3 separate regions of the Homo sapiens genome follow, and regions 2 and 3 are each linked to region 1. Evidence: promoter capture Hi-C in 16 types of primary human blood cells and fetal thymus (Javierre and others, 2016). All regions are on one chromosome and are shown on one strand. The core of a region is centred on a gene start or on the middle of the fragment in contact, and the rest is flanking DNA. Distances in the headings are between cores, read along the strand shown. Region 1 holds the start of BCAR3-AS1 (BCAR3 antisense RNA 1). Region 2 has its middle 41 kb from the start of CCDC18-AS1. Region 3 overlaps DNTTIP2 (deoxynucleotidyltransferase terminal interacting protein 2).

Region 1 (5,110 bases), core at 1,308-3,807:
TTCAGACACCTTTGGGACAAAAAGGTGAGTGAGGAGTAGGAAAGGCAAATTCACATTCCTTCTAAAAGCTTATGGCTACCCACTTCTCTGGGCCAACAGAAGACAATGCTACTATGTCTCTTCTTGGGTCAGCTCTTTAGTTTTTCAAAGATCAAATTCATAGAAGAGCCAATCATTCATTCAAGAACTATTCACTGACCACCTACTCGTGCCAAGCACCACTGCAGGCTCAGGGGATGCAGTGGTGACAGTGGCACACAAGAGCCCACCTTATGGAGCTCCTGTTTTTGGTGGGGAGCTTCTGTTTTAGTGAGGATAAATAACCAGTGGCTATGGTATGTCAGCTGTAAGGTCAGGGAAGAAGTAAACCAGGAAAGGAGGCAGGAAGTGCCGGGGAGGGGATGAGGGCTGTCCAGTAAAATAGGGTGGTTGGGGAGGTGTCACAAGAACATGACGTTTATACAGACCTGAATGATGTAATGAAACAGGAAATAAGAAATGAGAAAATGTGTGCCTGGCAGGCCTGATTTTCCCTCCCCAACAAGTGGAGTGAAGAGAAAGAAGGGTATTTGTTGGTGTCTAGAAGTCATCCTAGGGGCCCTCTCCTAAGATGCCCCTCTCCAGGCCTGGCCAGTGGGGAGGAGGAGTCCACATGCAGGACTGGGGTATAGATTCTGGACACACCAATTACTGGCTAGAAGGCCTAGAACAAAGTCAGGCTGGGGTCCCTCATCTTACAGTTACTATCAGGGTTATGTATTTGTATACATAACATATGTAAGCACTGGAACACAGTGGATGCTCAAAAATAGTTAACAAGCATGATGCTGCTGCTTACAGCAACTGGAGAATTTATAATGTGGTGCAGCCTGGCTGTTCCTGTAGCCTGACCACCTGGGTTTGCATCCTGGCTCAGCTGTATGACTCTGGACAAATTACATAATCTCCTTGTGGCTCACTTATATCATCTGAAAAACACAAATGATAATATTACCTATAGAATGGCTACAAAGATTTAAGGGGCTAAAATGTTAGCAATAACTCGTTATTACGGTTATGGTTATAGTGTTCAGTTATCCAGTTTGGAACGATTTATCACTGAAAATTAATACTCATGCAAGTAGTAAACGAATGTAATGACCATGATAAGGAGACGGACGGTGGTGATAGTATCGGTTTTATAATTCTGACAATTTTTCTGGAACATTCCAACATTTGATCAACAGTATACTTCTGTTAGGTCAAAATAGTAGGCTACCATGGTTACTTTAAAATTGCATCTTTGCCTTAAAAATGTTTTCACATAGAAATGCCACTTCTTAGAATTGAGCCTGTGAAAATAATTGTAGGTATGAACACAGCAATCTTAAAGGATATTGGTCAGAGTATTAGAAACACCCTATGTGTCCAGTAAATTGTAGTGCATGCATACCGTGGACAGACATACAATGTAGGCTGGTGCAGAAGAATATTCTACAGTGGGTGAAAATTCCCAGGACATAGTAAGTGAGTAGAATGGGCTACCAAAAAAGTATATGTAGTACAATCTCATACTTGATTTCAAAAAGCCCGGGAGGATGTATGTACACAAAAGTATTCATCGTGGTTATCCCCAGGAGAATTATGAGGAGAATTATGGATAAGAGTTTAATTTCCTTCTTTTTGCTATCTATGTTTTCTACAATCAATTTTAAACTTAAAAAAACAAAGTCAGAATAATAATTATTTATTTGATTGTGCCAAGAAATCTACTACATTAAAAAAAAAAAAAAAAAAAAAAAAGCCTGGGCACAGTGACTCATGCCTGTAATCCCAGCACTTTGGGAGGCTGAGGTGGGTGGATCACTTGAGGGCAGGAGTTCGAGACCAGCCTGGCCAACATGGTGAAACCCCGTCTCTACTAAAAATATAAAAGTTAGCAGGGCATGGTGGTGGACACCTGTAATCCCAGCTACCAGAGAGGCTGAGGCAGGAGAATCGCTTGAACCCAGGAGGTAGAGGTTGCAGTGAGCTGAGATTGTGCTATTGCACTCCAGCCTGGGTGATAGAGTAAGACTCTGTCTCAAAAAAAAGAAAAAAAACTTACGACATGATGCCCTTCCCCCCAGCCCCTGTCCACACACTTCCTGTCATGTTGTCCTTGGTTAATGATTGGCCAGATCAGGTTTACAATAAAAACCCAAGGGAAATTCTATGCCTCAATTCTGCAGACTTACTCTATTTTTCAATTTTTACAGTATTAAATGAAAAAACATTATTTATGGCAATCACCCAAATGACGATCACAAAGTATATTCTGGGCCATGAGTCTGTGGTCATGGGTTTAATTCCCCTTTTTTCCCACCTCTGGGTCACAGGATCCAGTAGGGAAGTGATGGAGAGTGTGAATAACTGCCAGCTCAATGGGGCAGAGGCAGCCTTGTTGATCTGGGCCACCTGCCCTCTCTCCTCCCGAAGCTAAGCCACTGCCTTGAGAAGGAGGGGCTGCAAATGGTCTGAGGCTGCTGGCAGCTGGCCAAGAGTTCAATTACCTGGGCCACAGCCCGCCCTCCTAGTTCTTCCGGTTACTGACTCTGTGGCTGCTGCCTCCCACAACGCTGTGCTTGCAGACCCCAGGAGCGCTGGCTGTCCCTTCACTTCCTGAACATGTGGATGTGTGCTTTGGGTTCTTGACCTCAGCTCTTCCCAAGGTCTTCTTAGAGAAGGGTCTAAATGAAGTCATTTTTAGAGTATTTGTTTTTGGTTACACAGGTGCTTCCGCCCATGTGGCCTCGGAGTGGGACCCTGCGGGTCATCAATCTGTACATTGCCTGAGAGCAGCCGTGTATGCTCTGGAAGGGACAAGACCAGGTACCTGTCGGGGGATGCGGCCGTGGTACCAGGCATGGCTGCGCAGGTCCTCGCTGCTCAGGAGCAGCTCCTCCTCCAGCTCCTTCTTCAGTTTCTCGGGGGTCCTGTCCATGATGTGCCTCTCCTTGGAGAACTGCAACACAGAGTCAACCATGAGCTCACCCTGCCCAGGCCACACCAGGCCATGCCAGCTGGAGGTGACCGCCTGCTTCACTAATCCAACCAGTTATGCTACAGCCTGCATTCAGGTAGGGGAGCCTGGATAATGATTACAAAGAGCTGTGACCTTTCGTTTCTCCGGCCGCAACCATGTAATAAAATTTTCACCTGCACATGGGGACTATGGTAGGAGAGTCCACCAAGAGGTTCCTTTTACCAGTCTACTCAAGCAGCTGGGCAGGAAGGGCCAGAGAGATGTACAGACAGCAAGACACAGCAGCCCAGCCTGCTCTCTTCCCAGCGGAGAGCTTCCTCATTCTCCTTCAGGACTGTCCTGACATAGCGTGGGGAGGGCAGCTGTTCCCTTCTGGCCTTAGATCCTGGGCCTCTGGGCAGTGAGGCCCAAAGCACAGTCCTTGGGCTGGTAGCGATGGCCCTAACTTCTTTGCTGTTGGTAAACTCATGTTCAGGAATTGAGTCAGTCTTTAGAAACTTTTAGGGCAAATGGACAGAGCAATTTTATGTCTCTTGAATCTAATAACAGAAGTCTGTCTTTATTTCACATTTCTAATATTTCATTTTTATGACAGATAGGAAAGTGAAACAAATTTAAAAAGACAACCCTGGTCCTTCACCTCAGATGTTTGAGAATCAGTGGTCTGCGGCGTTGCACAGTGGCCATGGCAGTGAGTGCTGGGTGGACAGCGGTGGCTCCAGGTTTAATTTAGAACCATGCCTGCTTACAACATGTGAACTGAACCTGGAAACCTGCCCAGTTCCCAGCAAGACCAGGCATGCTGACCAGGAACCGCTTGCTGAAAGTCCCATGAACAGAAAAAGGCTGTGTCCCTGTGGTTCTCCCAAGTTTCCCAGCTTGTCCTTCAAACCCCCATGGGAGCCACAAAATTATTACTTATCACACTACTTTTTAAAAATGTTTATTTATTTTATTTTTTTTGAGACAGGGTCTCACTGTGCTAGAGCACAGTGGTGCAATCTCAGCTCACTGTAGCCTTGGCCTCCTGGGCTCAAGCAACCTCCTGGGCTCAAGCGATCCTCCCATCTCAGCCTCCCTGGTAGCTAGGACTACAACAGGCACGTGCCACCATGCCTGGCTAATTTTTGTAATTTTTTTTTTAGAGATAGGGTTTTGCCATGTTGCCCAGGCTGGTCTCAAACTCCTGGGCTCAAGCGATCCACCCACCTTGGCCTCTCAAAGTGCTGGGATTACAGGCGTGAGCCACCATGCCCGGCCTATTACACTACTTTGCACGTCAGCAAAGAAATAGCTCCAAATCCTTTTCCACCAAACAACAACAACAACAACAACAACAACAAAGCCCTGGAATTTTAGGGCTAGATTCTCATCCTCTAGTGCTTCTTTGCACATTGGCCCATAAGGAGCGCTAGCTGAAGAGTAACTCAGGGGCTGATTTTTAGATGGGGCTCTGGCTTACTATTTGTTTACTTCTCCCTCCTTCTCACTGGGCAGACACTCACTTGGGAGTGTCTGAAGGATGGAATTTGCATCAAAGAGATGCGGACGCTGGCTGTCCAGGGTGCCTGCAGGCTTTAGACGGTGATGTTTGACACCGTCCGCTCCCATCATTAATATTGTACGGCTTCATCTGAAGACAGCTTGAGTGTGGAATGCAGTTTGTCAACTCGGCCACGCTTTATTGTTCGTTTATTGTCTGACTTGCCTCCCACTAGACTGTAAGTTTCATGAAAACAGAAATCCATCTACTTTTTCCCCACTGCCCTTGAGCAATGCCTGAAAACATCAGGCACTGGGTATTCAGTAAACAAATACCCTAGGATGAGAAAAGATGCTGACTTTGCTTAGTTATGGAGATTCTCCCTTTCGCCCTCAAGTCATCTGAAGCCCTGTTTTCGCTGGGCATGCTGCCATTCAGCCAAAAGACCACATTCCTCAATCTCTGTCTCTTCCAGGGAGATGTGGCCACAGGACTCAGTTCTGACCAAGGAGCTGAGATGTGATGGCTGGAGACTCAACACCATTCTGGACGGTGAGTGGGGAGCCACACCAAGGAATTGGCTGGGTGGAAGGTCTGATTGAGGCTGGGTCCCTGATGACTGT
Region 2 (5,110 bases), core at 1,701-4,200, 290 kb before region 1:
AATGCCAATCTTAACCTTGAATTCCAAATTTGTATTTGTACAAATACAAATGATCTTATATTCCTGTTCTTAGTTAATGGTGTCATCATCCACCCATTTTCCCAAGCCGGAGATCTCAGAGTTATTCTTAATTCCTCCCCCTCTCACTCCTTTCATATTCAGTTACTAATCTTGAAATTCTCTTTCAGAAATATCTTTGGTCTAACCCATCTTTTCCATCCTATGTGCCAATGCTCTAGGTTAGGTTTGCATCCTCTCTCCCTTGGACTAACAAAACAGCCAGCTAACTTTTTACTTGCCCGGATCTAGTCCATTCTTTACAGTACCAGAAGTGCAACAGTGAAAGGATCTTGTCAATACCACAGCTTGCTTTTGGCTATTGAATAATGCCTTAGGCTAGCAAACAACTCACAACATGGTTAGTTATCTCATGATCAGTTTGGATTATTGTCGCTATATCAAACATACTACTCTTTCCTGATCACTAAAAACAATGTAAAAAAAGAAGAAAAGAGACTTTATCTTAGGAATGTAAGCCCTTTTAAATTATCAGGCCCAAACAGGCATTAGAATGAAACAGCAGTTACTTCACTTCACTTCCCCTTGGGCTAAATAATTGTCTTTTTTTTTCTTTTATATTTTCTTTTCTTTTCTTTTCTTTTCTTTTTTTTTTGAGATAGTGTCTCATTCTGTCACGCAGGCTGGAGTACAGTGGTGTGATCTCGGCTCACTGCAACCTCCGCCTCCCGGGTTCAAGAGATTCTTATGCCTCACCCTCTCGAGTAGCTGGGACTACAGGTGCATGCCACCACACCTGGCTAATTTTTATATTTTTAGTAGAGGCAGAGTTTTGCCATATTGGCCAGGCCAGTCTCAAACTCCTGGCCTCAAGTGATCCATCTGCTTGGCCTCCCAAAGTGCTGGGATTATAGGTGTGAGCCACTGCACTTGGCCAAATAATTGTCTCTTGATGCCACCTGCTACGTGGGCCCGAGGCTGACACCAAGAAGCCATGAAATGCTACAGCTGGACACCAGAACTCATATCGTATCGTTCAACAATGTACAGTCAAACACTTAATGTTATCTCTGTAAACCAATGAGAATTCCTGTCAAACAACTTTTTTTTAAATTATTATTTTTTGAGACAGGGTCTCTGTCACCCAGGCTGGAGTGCAGTGGCACAATCTGAGCTCACTGCAGCCTCAACCTCCTGGGTTCAAGCAATTCTCCCACCTCAGCCTCCTGAGTAGCTGGGGATACAGGTGCCCACCACCATGCCTGGCTTATTTTTTTATTTTTTGTACAGACAGGGTCTCACTGTGTTTCCCAGGCTGGTCTCAAAGTCCTCCACCTCGTCCTCCCAAAGTGCTGGGACTACAGGCATGAGCCAGCACACCTGGCCTGTCAAACAACTTTCTATCAGCCCACTCCTGATAATTTTTAATTATCTTTTTTTCCTTTGAAAGCTTGCTTGTAACTGAGGCTGACGGAGCTCATATCCAAGGTAACTGGGTCTGAGTCTTTAGAACAACTGTCCTTATCTTGGCTCAAGTAAACTTTTTTTTTTTGTCCTGAGATGGGGTCTTGCTATGTTGCCCAGGCTGGCCTTGAACTTCTGGGTTCAAGCAATCCTCTGCCTCAGCCTCCTGAGTAGCTGTGCCCAGCTTAAGTAAACTCTTTAAATCATATTTTGTGCCTTAGCATCTACCTTTAGGTCGACAATGGTAAAGAATAAAAGCGAAGATTTTTAACACTGGATTAAGTAGGAAATTCACAAAACATAATATCAAGCTCTGCAAAGAGCTATCTTAGCATAAATAAAAGGATGGTCTTTACGTATAAACTGTAAGAAAAGGACTCCTAGTTGAATAATATTTTTCCAAGTACATTCATTAATATGTAAATATCAATTAATAGCATCATATAGATTCATTTGCAGAGTTAAATTCCCATGTGGAAATTCTGTAGAGTTGAATGAAGACAATGACAAATGGGTAGAAAAAACTTCCCTTGAATGGACTTCTTGCTATTCTCTCGCTGCCATTTCATTTTGTCAACGATGTAGCTCATTTTCAATAATTAAAGTATGTTACACCCAAATAATCTATCTTCCCCTATTTCTACACTTCTAACTTAGCTTTGCTGCCAAAGCACACTGAAAAAAAGCCGTATGTCAGGACATATAACTTGAGTATTGGGATTTTTGTTCTAAAGGTCTTTTCCTCAAAATGCAATTAGGATCCACATGCAGGAAATCTAAACAGCCACTAGAGGGTGCCAGTCACATAATGACTGAGTAATACCTCCTTCCCCTTTGAGCTATTTCTAAATCTGAAAAGCCAACTGTTCTTGGTAAAGCCTTAGTAAATATGTTTATATTATTTCTCACTTGTGATTTGTAGTGATGTATAAACATGAGACCAGAGATAGCTATGGCCACAATTATTTCACCCTGACGTAAAAATGACTTCTGTGGTCTTCATTACAGGACAAAATGACCAGTCTTTCCTGCCCCTCTGTCATTTTTTTTCTCAGTTGCATAGTTTATCCCATTCTTTTATTGCTCAACTGAATGTCTGTAGGTATACTGACTGACTTTAAAGTGGTCAGATTTATCTTTCCTCCCTTTCTCTGTTTCTGTTTTTCAACCTTTGTTCTTTTTCCCTTATATATTCCCCAGCATTTTTTCTTCTTTATATTCCTTTCTTCAAACATTTTATTCCCAAAAGCAATGTTACAAGAAATAAGAAGGCCATGCTATACAGAACTCTAGGAGTAAGAAAAGCCTAACTTAGGAATTAGATGGAGATAGAATCTGCCTACTTAGTATAACACACCTTTGGGGCTGGTCTTCCACAGCAGGCCCTGAATGAACGTAGACTTCATCAGCAGGACAGAAATGAAATCTCTCAGAGCCCTCCTAGAGGAGGAAAGGGATAAACATGGGTGATTCTAAGGTATCTGGGAATGTAGTTCACTATAATGCACAGTGTTAGGCAAAAGGACAAAAATCTATTACTACTATAGAGAAAAGGTCAAAAGAGCCTATAAACTCAAACAAATATAAAAATTGCCATGCTAGTGAGACCCAAAATCATTTAGGTTTTTATTCTTGAAACAATGTTACAAAGAAAGTTTTGTGGAAATGTTTGGTTGCATATTGTGACTCCCTTAAAATGTCCCTAAAGCATCTGTTTGTCTTTATAATCAATCCACTTTGGCTTTTCATCCCTGAAGTATTTAAATTCTTTTGGAGACTTTTCTATTTCAGCCTGTAAATCCTTTGGAGATTAGAAGCTCCATGTGATTATAGTCATTTATTTATTCAAAAAAGCATTACTGGCCCATGTGGTGGCTCACACCTGTAATCCTAATACATTGGGAGATACACGAGGATTGCTTGAGCCCAGGAGTTTGATACCAGCCTGGGCAACATAGTGAGACCCCGTCTCTACAAAAAATAAAATTAGCTGGGTATGGTAGCACATGCCTATAGTCCCAGCTACTTGAGAGGCTGGGGTGGATCACTTAAGCCCAGGAGGTTGAAGCTGCAGTAAACTGTGATCACACCACTGTACTCCTGCCTGGGTGACAGAGCAAGACCCTGTTTCAAAAACAAACAAAAAACCGAAAAAGCATTATTGTGCACTTAATTTTGTGCCAGGCACTATTTAATGCATGTCCTGAGAATATTAAGATGAAAAGACAGCATCTCCTTACTCTTGAAAAAATCAGCCTAATGAGAAAGGTGCTCTTGTAAATAAAGTGTAAAGAGGTCATCTTGTCTTAAATTACCTTTTGCAAGTATGCCTCCTTCCTCGAGTATTCTGGAATTTATTGAGTAAATTCAAGTAGATGCTAAAACATTTATAAACCAAGATATTCTACAAATATGTTATTCTTGTATTAAGATGTAAGTTTTAAGTGTGTATCATTGTTCTTTCTTTTCTGATTCTGACTTTCAGTCATTCTTCAAAACTGTTTTTCAGTGCCTCCTATGTGCCAGGCACTGTGGTAGGATGCTGGGATACAAATATGAATATGACATTATCTCTGACTCTCCAAGTTATTTATTTCACATCTCCTCTCTCCTCAAACCTCCAACACTTCATCTTTCCTCACTCTCAACTGGTGATCTCAATTTACACTTCACTGAAAGAACAGAAGCCTCAGGCAGTAATTATATCTTCCCACCATCGAATCTACCAACCTACCTGAATCTGAATACATGTTCTCCCTCCTTTCACAATGAGGTTGTCCTTTCCAGGGCTCTGGATCCCATGCCCTCCTGCCTATTTGAGGATTTCACTCCTGCCATTATGTGTCCTCTTTTCTGCATCATGCCTTAGTATTGTCTTGCTTGACTAAACTCTCTCTAGACTCTCCATCCTTGCTGGCTTCTGCCCTCTATCTCAGCATGCCTTCACAGTAAAGCTTATCAAGAGTTGCCTATACTTGCTCTCTCTACTTTCTAACTTCTCTTTCTCTGTTCAACCCACTCCAATTATATGTTCATTGCATCTGCTGAAATAATATTTACCAGATCTGTCACCAGTGACTTTGACCTTGCCAAAGATTATGTCAATTTTCAGTCCTCTCCTATCTGACCACTCTAAATTTGGCAGAGGTGACCATTTCCTCCTATTTAAAATCCATTCTGTAGTTGGCTTCTGTAACCATATGCTCTCAATTTTCCTCCTATTTCACTGGTGTTTCTTCTTGGTTACTTCTTCCTCTACTCAACCCCCCTAATCTCCTTGAATATTTAATTGCCTTCTCACATCTCCACTTGTATTTCTTAAGGCATCTCAAATGTAACAAGACTGAGAAAAATTATTGGTCTTTCCAGAATTTCCTTTTCTCTAGAATTTCTTCCAGAATTTCTCCTTTTCCAGTTTTGTACATCTTGAATAAAGCATCCCCACTCACCTAGTACTTCCTCTCACCACCTTCAAACCAATCCATCAGCAAGTCTTTTCAGCCCCATATGTAAAAAAGAACTTGAATCAAACCTCTTCTCACCACTGTGACAGCTACCACCCTAGTCCAAGTCATCATGTCTTGCTTGGATGACTGCAGTGGCCATCTAATTATTTTCCAGGTTTATC
Region 3 (5,110 bases), core at 2,426-4,925, 280 kb after region 1:
CATACCTATTTGGTTTCCTAGGTCATCACAAAGGCTGCCAGTTTGGCCTACTTAGTGATCATTCTGTATTTGTTCATACACTCAACTGAATAAAATTTACAGTGATCACTATGCACCAGGCACTGTGTTACATGTTAGGGAAACAAAGAACATCTGGTTCCTGCAGTGCAGAGCCTGCAGTCTTAAGGAAGCTCCACAAAAAGTAACTAAAATATTAAAGCATAACATGTGCTGAACAAAACACTATAGACGCTCTGAAGACAAAGTGACCAATTGTACCTAAGAGAGGTAAGGAAGATTTAACAAAGAATGACAATTTAGCTTGAATTTGTATGGGTAAAATTTCACCAAACAAACAAGAACTATGGATATGCAAAGTCAAATTATGCAGGGACTGGTATGTACGTGTTCTGACAAGACTGAGTAGCTAAGTGTGTTGGAATTTGTTGGGCTATATGATGAAAGGCAGGTGAACTAGTTTGGGTATGGATTATTAATGGCTAAATGAAAGGATACAGACCCAATCCTATGTCATAATTCATCACTGAATGTTTCTGAGCAGAGGTGTAACACGAACAGATGAAAACATTTTAAAAACCAACTTGGATTAGTACACGTGATACCCTTTTACCCCTATCCCGTATGGACTCTTGCTGTTAGGCTGATACTATTCATACATTCACATAGTGAACTTTATAGGTTCAACAGGTTTTAGCTGACCTGGAAACCATTTGTAACACCATCTCTCTAAATGTGATCAAATTAAAAGTTAGTGGCTGAATTGGGTAATGGCCATTCTTATATGGCCTATGCAGATATGTTCCATACATTAGGCATGCACAATGGAAATATCCTCTATTTTAGGAGTAAACTTTAAAGAACACTACAGTGCTTTCCAAACTAAAATTCACAGATCATCACCACTATTCTGTTTGCTTCATACCTGGAAGTACTTGGGGAAGCCATCTCTATCATTTTTCTTGTAAAATCTTTTCGGGTCCATGCTGGCTCTCATCTTCAGTGCTTTGAGATCATTTTTCAGTTCATTTGTCATTTCTGGAGCTTTCATACCAAACCAGCCATCCCCTGCTGTTTTTTGTCGTTCTTTCTGAAATTATGATTTCAAAAATAAACATTCTAACAGCTAAGAGTATACATTATAATTCATTTCCCCTGAAGTAACACATACAGAAAATTTTGTAAATTAAAAACAAATGGTTACTTTATTGAAAGCACTTAAATCCAGAATCATAGAGATAAAAGGAATTAAATCACAAAAAGTGACTTCTCCGCTAAATTAGGGACAGGATTATCAGTTTCATAAATGAGGGCTCCGTAAAATCTATTTTCTGTCTCAGAGAGTAACTGCTGACTTGCTGGGAGAATAACACACAACTTCAATTTTTATTGTCTAAAACAGACTATATGCAGTAAGAAAATGTATAAAAACACTTTCGTTTCTAGAGCTTATATGTAAACATTTTTATTCAGTCACCCAGGAGTCTCAGAATGCCACTCATACAAGGATCCAGAACCTTGTGTTATTTCTACAATAAAACAAAATACTATTCTTTAGAAAACTCCTACAAGTTATTTAATTTTGTTTCATTCATACAACAAGTATTTAGTTAGTGCCTACCATGTGCCAGGGTGCTCCATATTACAGTAACATTACTAGAATACCATCCTCAACTTTCCTTCAAGCTCTCTGGATAACTAGTCGAAATGGCAGATAGAAGTAATCTATATATATATATATTTTTTTAAAAAACCTCTACTTATAGATGCACTATTGTGGCTGCAAAGATGTGAAAATCTATACATAATGTGTTTATGGTACTATATTTTACAGCCCTTAGAAATCTGTAATTATTTTCTTTGGACTCATATATAGACCAACAGATACAGTTTAATTGTGCAGTTATGTTGTATAAGCTGAAAATATATAGCCAAACATATCTAAGCATTTTAATTAAGTCACTGTACTTACTCTGCGTTTTTTCTGAAGTTGATACTTTGATTCACTATATGGTGGAACACAGTGGTTTTTTTCAAAATCAGGTGTAATGACGGCTTTCTGCAGAAGCTATAAAAACATAAAATTGGTTTTAAAATAATGTCAGAATGTTATATAAGTTTTTCAACAGTTTAAACTTCTGTAAGTTTTAAAATTTTTAGTCAGCCTGGCAAAGTGGCTCACACCTATAATCCTAGTGCTTTGAGGAGGCCAAGGGAGGAGGATCACTTGAGGCCAGGAGTTTTAGACCACCTTGGTCAACATAGCAAGACCCTGACTGTAAAAAAAAAAAAAAAAAGAAAAGAAATTAGTTGGGCATGGTGGCACACACCTGTAGTCCCAGCTACTCAGGACGCTAAGGCAGAAGGATCACTTGAGGCCAGGAGCTTGAGGCTGCAGCAAGCTATGACTGTGCCACTCACTCCAGCCTGGGTGACAGAGTGAGACCCTGTCTCCCCCCAAACCCAGCTCCCTCCCAAAAAAAAAAAGAAAAAAGAAAAAAAAGGCCAGGCACGATGGCTCATGCCTATAATCCCAACTCTTTAGGAGGCCAAGGCAGGACAATCACTTGAGGCCAGGAGTTCAAGACTAGCCTGGGTAACATAAGAAAACGCCATTTCTCCAAAATAAATAAATAAATTTGTGCAGTCAAATCTGTTTATCTTTTCCTAAATGATTTCTGTACTTTTGTTACTTGACTAGGATGATTATATTCTCCTAAAACTCTGTGTGACTAAAGGAACCTCAGGTTAATTAGTATTTTTCTCAGTACAAGAACCAAGTAAGACTGCTCTGTAGCCCTCAAAATAGTTTACAGGAATATAGTACAAGCATTAATTTGGGACTGACATTTGAAATGATCAACTCAGAAATTAACAGTCAGGCACACAATTCAGGTTCAGGCCTAGATGTTTCTGTGTGGTATAGGTAGCCGTCTAGGCTTTCCTATCACTCATAAAAGGGGGCATGATATTTACTTAACAAATGATTAAGAGTTTGCTGTGAGTCAAGTACTGTAGTACATTCAAGGACAGTGGTTCTCAACTGGGAGCATCTGGCAATGTCTGGAGACATTTTTGGTGGTGGTGAGGATAAGGAAGAATGCTACTGACATCTAGTGGGCAAAAGATAGGGATGCTGTTAAACATCCTACTATGCACGGAACATCTCACAACAAAATTATGCAGCCCAAAACATCAGTAGTGCTGAGACTGAAAAACCCTGTTTTAGGAATATAAAGAAAAGATGGTAAGTTAATATATCACATGATCAACAATGAATCAGATCTATGCTAGATGTTATGGAAACAGAGGGGTTGTGAGAAGGACTGGAGGTAAAATATTCCCCAAGGGCAACGATCAATTATTTTGCACTTGCTTGGGGAAAAGCAGGGTAAGTTCAGGCAACTACAGTAGTCTTCAGTGGCAAGAATAGAGCAGATGACAGCTGGGTGGGGTAGAGAGGTACTTTGAAGGATTCAAGAGAATACTGTCACATCTGTGTGTGTGGTGTGTTTTTTGGGGCAGGGAGGAGAGATGTGGTCTAGCTATGTTGCCCAGGTTGGTCTCAAACTCCTGGGCTTAAACAATTCTCCTGCCTCAGCCTCCCAAAGTGCTGGGATTATAGATGTGAGCTACCTTGCCCAGCCGGATTTGTGTTTTTAGACAGAGAAATCTAGAAGTGTGGAGGATGGCTTGAAGAACAAGATGAAAACAAGATCAATAAGGAAGCCACTGGAGTAGTCCAGATGAGAAGCAAAGGCCTGCACTAGCTGGTGACAGTCGCTTGAAAAGGAGGAAGCAGAGAAATATCTTCCCCTAGAGGCTTGGTGACTGACTACAAAAGGAAAAGAGAGTTTGGTTTCATTAGCCAGAAAAAAGAATACAAGAAGAGGATTCCTGGTTCAGGCAGGGAAAGGGGAATTAGTGACGTCAAGTACCTGAGGACATCTAAATGAACAAATAGGTACTTGGATTTAAAGGTCTGAAAGTGACAGTGAGAAGCATCAAGGCTAGAAAATATAGATTTAGGAGAAAACAGTGCAAGGTGTTGGCTAAAGCTAAGGGTTTGGGTAAAGTTACCTTAACAGTAATTCCTTCTGAAATTATATGTAAAATGTCTATATGCACATGTGCATTTTTTTCCGGGTGGAAGAGGCAGGCAGGCATTCACAGCTTTCAGATTCTCAACAGTCTACACTAGTTAAGAACTTAAGAACTAAAAGTATAGCAAGAAAAGGGAAAAAAACAAAACCCCTGGGATCATAATTGGTGGGTGTAAGATGAGGAACACTGACCCTGTATTGATTTATTTTTAAAGCATTATCATTCATAGATAGGATTTTATTGTAAAAAGAAATGACTGTTTTAGAGAGAAGGAAAAAACTAACACATTAGGCCAATGTGGTTTCACTGTAGGAAAATTAAGTCTTTTACCAAGGACTAATTTCTAAAAGTGATTGGTTAGTTCTGTGAAAACCTAACAGCACAATTAACTTACCTCATTTTTCTTTTTCTCCTTGATCTGTGTTAGGGTTCTCTTGTTAGACTGTAGTTTATCTGCATTAAAATTAATATACAAACCACCCAACTGCTTGATACTCAGACCAGGGTCTATGCTGCTGCTTGTCAACTTCAGACTGAAAAAGAAATCATCACTTAAAGATCAAGTAATTAAATCAAAATGGAAACATATAAGATGGCATTTTAAAAAATCACTTATTCTTCTCTTCCCTTGTATTGTCCACAATAAAGAAAAAAAAGCATCTTATTTTTATGAGGAATTCCTGAAAAAAAACTCTAAATAAATATATTTTTCATCATTTTATTTTATTTTTTGAGACAGGGTCTCACTGTTGGCCCAGGATGGAGTGCAGTAGTGACCACTGCAGCCTTGAACTCTTGGGACTCAAGTGATCCTCCTACCTCAACCTCCCTGGGTGGCTGGGACTACAGGTGCACACCCAACACCTGGCTCCATAATGTCAAATGAATGAGCCATTCCATGAAGAACCCAAGGCAGTGATTTTCTCATTCCCCAGGCTAACATTTCATATTTTTATGGTAAATTAACCACTTGAAATACATGTATCAA

What was found. The method cuts DNA at HindIII sites, captures the fragments that hold promoters and counts their contacts. A CHiCAGO score of 5 or more calls a contact.
Region 2: a fragment that was not itself captured here is called in contact with the fragment with the promoter of BCAR3-AS1 in region 1 in 2 of 17 cell types (erythroblasts and megakaryocytes); the score reaches 5.0 in erythroblasts.
Region 3: a fragment that was not itself captured here is called in contact with the fragment with the promoter of BCAR3-AS1 in region 1 in 2 of 17 cell types (M1 macrophages and monocytes); the score reaches 6.0 in M1 macrophages.

Annotation. Positions count from the first base shown.
Region 1 is chr1:93,589,411-93,594,520 of GRCh38, forward strand. BCAR3-AS1 (BCAR3 antisense RNA 1) reads left to right here and starts at 2,558. Exons shown (of 4, transcript NR_034091.1): 1 at 2,558-3,098; 2 at 4,963-5,039. It overlaps BCAR3 (BCAR3 adaptor protein, NSP family member), which reads right to left. Exons shown (of 12, transcript NM_003567.4): 4 at 2,855-2,983; 5 at 1-9. RefSeq lists enhancers at 1-268, 2,754-3,254, 2,761-2,920. The HindIII fragment of the contact is 15,312 bases long and covers 67-5,110 here.
Region 2 is chr1:93,302,549-93,307,658 of GRCh38, forward strand. No RefSeq gene overlaps it. Among named protein-coding and RNA genes, the nearest start is that of CCDC18-AS1, 41 kb to the right of the region's middle. The HindIII fragment of the contact is 2,968 bases long and covers 1,467-4,434 here.
Region 3 is chr1:93,871,129-93,876,238 of GRCh38, forward strand. It overlaps DNTTIP2 (deoxynucleotidyltransferase terminal interacting protein 2), which reads right to left. Exons shown (of 7, transcript NM_014597.5): 3 at 4,517-4,655; 4 at 1,991-2,086; 5 at 944-1,108. Among named protein-coding and RNA genes, the nearest start is that of DNTTIP2, 5.5 kb to the right of the region's middle. The HindIII fragment of the contact is 7,821 bases long and covers 1-5,110 here.